Regions from separate parts of the Homo sapiens genome. Here region 1 is linked to region 2. Evidence: promoter capture Hi-C in 16 types of primary human blood cells and fetal thymus (Javierre and others, 2016). All regions are on one chromosome and are shown on one strand. The core of a region is centred on a gene start or on the middle of the fragment in contact, and the rest is flanking DNA. Distances in the headings are between cores, read along the strand shown. Region 1 has its middle 2.3 kb from the start of WFS1. Region 2 holds the start of BLOC1S4 (biogenesis of lysosomal organelles complex 1 subunit 4).

What was found. The method cuts DNA at HindIII sites, captures the fragments that hold promoters and counts their contacts. A CHiCAGO score of 5 or more calls a contact.
Region 1: a contact is called between a fragment that was not itself captured here and the fragment with the promoter of BLOC1S4 in region 2, in 1 of 17 cell types (total B cells). The highest score is 5.7, in total B cells.

Annotation. Positions count from the first base shown.
Region 1 is chr4:6,265,643-6,269,551 of GRCh38, forward strand. No RefSeq gene overlaps it. Among named protein-coding and RNA genes, the nearest start is that of WFS1, 2.3 kb to the right of the region's middle. The HindIII fragment of the contact is 2,109 bases long and covers 1,531-3,639 here.
Region 2 is chr4:6,713,411-6,717,634 of GRCh38, forward strand. It overlaps BLOC1S4 (biogenesis of lysosomal organelles complex 1 subunit 4), which reads left to right and starts at 2,764. Exons shown (of 1, transcript NM_018366.3): 1 at 2,764-4,224. The coding sequence starts at 2,800. The coding sequence ends at 3,453. LOC105378240 (a long non-coding RNA gene) reads left to right here. Exons shown (of 3, transcript XR_001741568.3): 2 at 401-457; 3 at 614-735. RefSeq lists enhancers at 2,484-2,683, 3,166-3,805 and a silencer at 2,964-3,013. The HindIII fragment of the contact is 17,705 bases long and covers 1-4,224 here.

The DNA of each region.
Region 1 (3,909 bases), core at 1,335-3,834, 450 kb before region 2:
CTGCCACAGTTATGAAGGCCGGAAGTCTGAAATCAGTGTCACTGGGCAAAAATCAAGGAGAATCTGTTCCCTGCTCTTCCAGATTCCAGGGACTGCCTGCATTCCTTGACTTGTGGCCACATAATTCCTATCTTCAATGCCAGCGTCTTGGAATCTCTCTCTGCTCTATGTCCACATCAACTTCTCCGTGTGTGGTCAAATCTCTGTCTGCCTCTCTCCTGCAAGGAGATAAGCCAGGCTAATGGCCCCTTCTCAAAATCCTTAATCACATCTGCAAAAACCCTTTTCTAAATAAGGTACCATTCACAGGCTCCAGGAAGTGATCTCTTTGGGGGCCTTGTACACCAATAGCCTGTAAACCGCCACACTCTGCTGTCTTTCAAATGACAACTCACCAAGCCTCTGTCCTCATTTTCTTTGAATACTTGGCATGTAGTCCAATGCCTGGAACAGGCAGGATGTCACTAAATGTTTATATTTTTTAATTTTTATTTATTTTATTATTATTCTTATTATTTTTGAGACAGAGTTTTACTCTGTCGCCCAGGCTGGAGTGCAGTGGCATGATCTCTGCTCACTGCAACCTCCAGTTCCTGGGATCAAGCGATTCTCCTGCCTCAGCCTCCTGTGTAGCTGGGATTACAGGCATGTGCCATGACGCCCGGCTAATTTTTTTGTATTTTTAGTAGAGATGGGGTTTCTCCATGTTGGCCAGGCTGGTCTCGAACTGCTGACCTCAAGTGATCCACCCACCTCGGCCTCCCAAAGGGCTAGGATTACAGGTGTGAGCCACCACGCCTGGCCAAAAGTCACTAAATGTTTGTTGAGTAAATGGAAGTAGGTTTTAAATAGGTGTAGGGAAGGAAGTGGGCCAAGAACTTGAATGCAGAGTCTGAAAATCATGGGCAGACATCAAAGGACTGAATTGTGGGGGGTATATTTGGATGTCAGGTTAAAGAGTTTGGACACTGTCCTATGGGCAAGAAAGAGCTTATATGAAGTCCTTGCATAGGTGATTCATCCATCCATCCATCCATTCATTCATTCAATACTCAGCAGCAACATGCAGAGCTCAGCTCTTGGGGGAATGAGGACAGGTGTCCTAGAAAAGATAGCATTGAACAGCTGGCTCTTTCTCCCACCAGAGTTGTGTTTTAATAAGTTCTAGTATTTCTAGCAGTTACTGCTTTAAGTGTGTGGCTACTAGATTTTCTGGCTCATTCAGATTCATGACAATGAAATCTTTGTGGATTGTGCCTGGCACCCTTACATAATACCACTCTTCCCGTGAATGCTTTCCATCATGCGTTCTTCCTTATCAATAGTAATTTGCCATTTTTCAAATGTCTGCTGTGATCTTCTACTTCTCAATATTTTTGGTGTGTTTCTTGTAAATAGCGCTTAACTGGACTTTAGTTTTTGCCCCAATCTTACAGACTTTGGATGGGAAATTCAGCCCATTCACCGTGTTACGAAGGCGGGTAGCCATGGCTTTATTTATTTTATCTCATCTTATGTTTACTATTATTAAGCTTATTGTTCTTGCTATTATTTACTTTCCCCCTTAATTTTGCTTCCTTACTCTCCCTCCACCCCTCCCCCAACTTCTACCTAGTAATTCAGGAGTTCTACTCTGCTTCTTTCCCGTGAGTTGCTACTTTCCAATTCCTGAGAGTCATAATTCAACCAATCTTTCCCTGATAATGTATTAAAAGTAAATGGTAATGAAGCCCCCTCCCCACCACCAATAAGGCTTTCCTTCCCCAGCTGAGAGTCATAATTAAACCAATCTTTCCCTGCTAATGTATTAAAAGTAAATGGTAATGAAGCACCCCTCCCAACCACCAATAAGGCTTTCCTTCCCCACTCACCAAATCAGATCCTTTTACTTCCTCCTTCTCCCCTCAACCAAATGTGATCTTAAAATATTCTGACTTCTCTGTGATAAGATTCTATTTTTTTTTTTAGTTCCAGGCTAATACAACTTTCTCTTGAAGCATGTAGCTTATGTTTTAAGAATCCTTATGTGGCACTGCTAGTACAAAATCACAGGCACATGTGGATTATCCATACTGTATATTTTGCAAGGGTCATTGCTTAACACCACTTCCTGTTCTGAGCGTTTGCTCTATCTTGAAATCTCTACTGTGATTGAACTGTCTCGGTGACGGGGGAACTCTGAATATCTTCCTCTGAAAGGGGACATCACTGAGGTCCTTTCTCTGTCTTGCCACAGTGGATATTTTCTCTCTTTTGTCCACATAGATGAATCCTGTAGTAGCCATGGTAAGGATCCTTGATCCTATCATCAGAGTCCCTGGACATTGCTCCAAAGTCCCCTAGGAACCACTTCAACTTTTCTCCCCTTAGATGTGACCTGTTCTTTCTGGAACTCTGCAAGACCGTCTCTTTATCCTTGGCATCTGGGATTTCCAGGGACACGTTCTCCTGGCACTTTGCTCACCTCTGTTTCCCCTCCAGCTCTTCCTGGAGTACCTGTCCTTTGTGCAATACACCTCCTGGAACTGTCTTTCCAGTCTCTGCTTTTTGTCCTGATGATTTTCATGTGCTTTTCCTCTACATCATGAAGCATTTACTCCACATTATCTTCCAGTTTGCTCATTTGTCCTCACCTCCACTCTTCTCTTTCTGAATTTGCCTGTTGCTTTTTCAGTCTCTTAGCTCCGTGGAGTATGTTCAGTGTTGCTGTGTTCTGATAGAGGCTCCTTAAGCCATCTTGTAGATTTTTTGTTGCACTTCCTCTCTTCCCTTAGACCTCCACAGGAGGAACTTTTCAATCTGTCCTCTTCTCTCTGCTTAATGAGCCCCTGCAAAGGGTTTGGGAAGTGCTTCAGCCTCTCTGTGATTGTGTGTTCACATTAATATTTATTATTTTCTTAAATGTGCATAAATCTCACAATGTGAACAGTGATCATCTTTGAGTGATTTTTTTTCTCCTTTCTACTTTTAGTAATTCTCCAAATTTTCTACAGTTAGTGTGTGATAAGGTGGAAAGACATCTTCAAGACTTTGGGCAAATAACTATGTCTGAGCCTCAATTTTCACATCAATAAAAAATGGGCTCAGTGCCACCTCCCTCCTTGGGTCACTAGGGGGGCCCTTGAAAGCTGTGAAAGCCCCTAAGCCAACCTGGACAGAGCAGGCGAGGCTGACGGCAGGTGTTCTTCCTTCCTCTGTGAGCCTCACAGGGTCACACGTGAACATTGGGGATCGGGGGTGGGCAGTGGGGGCAGCTGGAGAATCAAATGAGGTGACTGACATGAACTACGCCGCTTTGACAAAAGTCCTCCGAAGTAGTGTGTTCAGAACTCATCTCCAAAGCCATCTGGAATATTTGCTCCCAACATGTTGGTAAGCATTATCTCTGACAGTCACTCCGAGCCCCAGTTTCTGCTGTGATAACTAGGACAGGTAGCTCAGGTTGGTTGTGGGGACCAGAGACAGAGCAGGCAGGGTCTCACGTTCCCCAGGGCCTCTCAAGGATAGACCCTCGCCCTCATCTCCAAACCACGCCTCCCAGACAGGAACCAAACTCCCAGAGTCTCCAAACTGCCTGAGCCTTGCCCACTCCCTGGGCTAACACACACTTTAAAGGAATCCCACAGTCACCGTGTGAAAAGCTTGCTACACTGCATTTGATTCTGGGCACTGAAAGCAGTACTTGGCTGCAGACACTCGTTTCAAACAGGCCCCATTTTTCCATCTCTGCTGCTGTTATTAGGGGAGCCCTTAGACTCTCTTGCAGCGCCGGAATAGGCGCTCAAGACGTGTGTTAATATTGCAACAGCAAATATAATGAATCTGCAGTTGGGGACGCTGAGGCCGGAGTGGTGGATGAAAGGTGGCCGGAGCCTTTTCCACGGGTCCAAACCACCTGTTACAGGAGAA
Region 2 (4,224 bases), core at 1,514-4,013:
GACCATAGCATTATCTTATGTCATTTCAGTTTAGTATCTTACATGAGGTTGCAGTCAACCTATCAGCTGGGGCTGCAGTCATTTCTGAGTTTGAATGAGGATGGAGCATCCCCTTCCAGGATGACTTACTCATGTAGTTGTTGGAAAGAGGCTGTTTTTCCCTAGCTGTTGGTCTCAGTTCTTTGCTATATGGGCTTCTCCATGGAGCTGCTCACAACAAGGCAGCTGGTTTCCCCAGAGCAAGTGGTTTGTGAACCCCCAATATCTGAGACAGGTCTCAGTTCATTTAGAAAGTTTATTTTGCCGAGGTTGAGGATGTGTGCCCGTGACACAGCCTCAGGAGGTCCTGATGACATGTGTCCAAGGTGGTCAGAGCACAGCTTGGTTTTATACATTTTAGGGAGACATGAGACATCGATCAACATATCTAAGATGAACGATGGATTGGTCCGGAAAGGTGAGACAACTCAAAGCAAAGGCAGGACAACTTGAAGCGGGGAGGGGGCTTCCAGGTCTTGGGTAGATGAGAGAAAAATGGTTGCATTCTATTGAGTTTCTTTTTTTCTTTCTTTCTTTTAAAATTTTATTTATTTATTTATTTATTTATTTTGAGATGGAGTCTCACCCTGTCGCCCAGGCTGGAGAGCAGTGGCGTGATCTCGGCTCACTGCAACCTGCGCCTCCCAGGTCCAAGCAATTCTTCTGCCTCAGTCTCCCAAGTAGCTGGGATTACAGGTGTGTACGACCACAACCGGCTAATTTTTGTATTTTTAAAAGAGGGTTTCACCATGTTGGCCAGGCTGGTCTTGTACTCGTGATCTCAAATGATCCACCCACCTCAGCCTCCCAAAGTGCTGGGATTACAGGCGTAAGCCACCGCGCCCAGACATTTTGAGTCTCTGATTAGCCTCTCCAAAGGTGGCAATCAGATACGCATTTATCTCAGTGAGCGGAGAAGTGACTGTGAATAGAATGTGAGGCAGGTTTGCCCTAAGCAGTTTCCAACTTGACTTTTCTTTTAGCTTAGTAATTGTAGGACCCCAAGATTTATCTTCCTTTCGCAGGTTGGAAGGAAAGAGATGCCACACTACCTTTCATGAACTAATGTCCAAATCATACATCATCACTTCTGTGTTTTTCAGTTTATTATGAGCAAATGAAGTCACTAAGTCCAGTACATACTCGACAAGAGGGAATACACAAGAGTGAGAATACCAGGAGTAAGAAATCACTGGGAGTCATCTTGAAGGCTGGCTAGCAATCACAGTTTGCCCCCTGACTACCAATTCTTCATGCCATTTTAACGTGCTAACCACACTCCCCTCTATCCAAGGTCCCCAAAAGTTACATTTTTTTAAATCTCATGTAGTTTTAGGTATTACTATCCTATTGTCACATCAGCTTTAAGTCCAGAATTTTGTCTTCTCAATAAGATCAGATGTAGATGAGGCTTTCTGAGCTTAGTTCCTTAAATTCAGCTCCTAGAGTACAATTCTTCTTGATCTGTAGACTTTTGAAACTAAGGAGACAAGTTCTCTGCCCCCATGCCTGGAATATACAGTTGTGGGGCTGGCACAGGATAATCACTACAGACCTGTTCTGCTCCACTACGACTAGATTAGCCACTGCCACTCCTGTTCAAAAAGGGGGAAATTGGAAGTACAAACAAGTTGCCAGCCCACAGTAACTCTGCCATCCAGTCTCAAGGTCTAGGACTCCATGACTCCCAGTTCCACCATCTGGGCTCCTGGTTTCATGCCCTGAGTTATACTTCCTTTTTTGTGAAATGTGGCATGTGTTTGCCAATGAGTCTTTTTCTCAGTCTGATTCCTGCTTGTACAAGTTTGGGGAGAGGGGATCCAAAGGCCTGTTCCTTTCAGTCCAATCTGCAATGTTTGTGTCAATATAATTATCTTTAAAAAACTTTATAGGTCTCCTGTGAATCTCATCGGGGTTCACTCCGTTAAACAAAAGTGCTACCTACAAATCCCTTTGAGATAAGTCCATCTCTATCTTGGGCTTCTGCTAATACTGACGAACAAGCCTTAAGCCTTCTGGAGGCCTTGTGGTTTGACTGATGGACTCTGTGAGCCACACCATTAATCTCTTTAAGGAGCTGTTAGTCTAACTGAATGGTATTCTCAGGCACCGTCTTTGCTTTTTTTTTTGAGATTTTAAAGGATTTAACCGTCACATCTCAACTTCACCTTTGTTTTTTTCTGGCAGTACCCTGGATTTGATATTTGCTTGGAAACTATTACTATTTCTTAGTTTTACGCCATTTGCAATCAGGCGAAGCTGAGGACTTTAAAAATCATCCAAAGTCGTCAAGGTCCATCCCTTTTGTGTTTCGTCTTGCTTATCTCATTTATTTTACTATAAACAGCAAAAAGAAATGAAGGACAGGAGGGAGACGTTCATGGGTGCTGGACATGTCCTACCTGTTGGTCTGGATAGAAGATGCATGGTTGTATGGATGTGTACAAAGTCATCAATGTGCACACTTAAAATGTATGCACTGTATTGTATTCCTGCTATACCTTCGCTTAAAAAAGAAAAAAAAGGTTGAATGTGAGTTCGGGCGTGAGAAAACAGCAGCGCGCATGCGTGAGCGTGAGCGCGCATGCGTGAGCGTGAGCGCGCTGGGAGGCCGGAAACAAAGGTGGATGCGCGTGAACAGACGCCCTCGCAGGCCGCCGGAAGCAAAGGCGTGAGCGCGCGTGCGTGCGTGTGCGGGTGCGTGAGCGTGAGCGCGCGGAGGCCGGAAGCGAGCGCTGCGCAGTCGGGTGGTCGCGGGCCATGGAGGGTAGCTTTTCGGATGGCGGAGCGCTGCCGGAGGGGCTCGCGGAAGAGGCCGAGCCGCAGGGCGCCGCCTGGAGCGGGGACAGTGGCACTGTTTCCCAGAGCCACAGCAGCGCCTCGGGGCCGTGGGAGGACGAGGGCGCGGAGGACGGCGCGCCGGGCCGCGACCTGCCGCTGCTTCGCCGCGCCGCTGCGGGCTACGCCGCCTGCCTGCTGCCCGGGGCCGGGGCGCGGCCCGAGGTCGAGGCCCTGGACGCGAGCCTAGAGGACCTGCTTACCAGAGTGGACGAGTTCGTGGGCATGCTGGACATGCTTCGCGGCGACTCGTCCCACGTCGTCAGCGAGGGCGTGCCGCGCATCCACGCGAAGGCCGCCGAGATGCGGCGCATCTACAGCAGGATCGACCGGCTGGAGGCCTTCGTGAGGATGGTGGGGGGCCGCGTGGCCAGGATGGAGGAGCAGGTCACCAAGGCCGAGGCCGAGCTGGGCACCTTCCCCAGGGCGTTCAAGAAGCTCCTGCACACGATGAACGTGCCCTCGCTCTTTAGCAAGTCTGCTCCCTCGAGGCCACAGCAAGCCGGCTACGAAGCCCCCGTCCTGTTTCGGACCGAAGACTACTTCCCTTGTTGCAGTGAAAGGCCTCAGCTCTGACGGCCTGACCACTGCGGCAAGAGGACCCCAGCTGGGGTGCTTACCTCCAGTATGAAGTGAATTGCAAATCCTGCTTATGGACATATATGATGTTGGAGTGTGGGATTTTAAAGTTTACTTTCTACAAACTCTCCGTAGTATATTCATGATTCAGTGTAGAATGTATAGACTTTATGTCTTCCAAGTTTAAAAAAAGAGACAGGGTCTTGGTATGTTGCCCAGACTGTTCGGAAACTCCTGGGCTCAAGTGATCCTTCCACCTCAGCCTCCCCAGTAGCTGGGACTACGGGGTCGCCACTGCACCCAGCCTGTGTCTTCCAGCTCTAATCAGAAAGCTGCTTGTCGAGGGCATGGGGAATCAAACTGAATGAACTTTTCTCTGCACTGTGGCAAAACTGTTATTTTTATGGATTTTACTAAATGGCGTTACCTTTTCAAGATTTATATGTTTGTATAATCATAAGAAAATTGAGCCATTAAAGCCTTGTTATTCAATCCTAATAGTCAGTTTTCTAGAACCTACTTTTAGGGTAAATGGTACATTATTTAATATTATATTAAACCTCCTATAGCGTGGATTGTAGACCAAAGGAAATGGTACAATTTCTGAGAATATATGTTGATTTTTTGTGACTAATTCCAAAGTTGTATTTGAAAGTATGACCTCACAGTCTTCATTTGTCCATAGCAAACATATGTGTGTGTGTGTGTATATATATATGTGGGTTGCCAATGTTTGGTTTATAATTTAAATGTTAATAGAAATTTTGA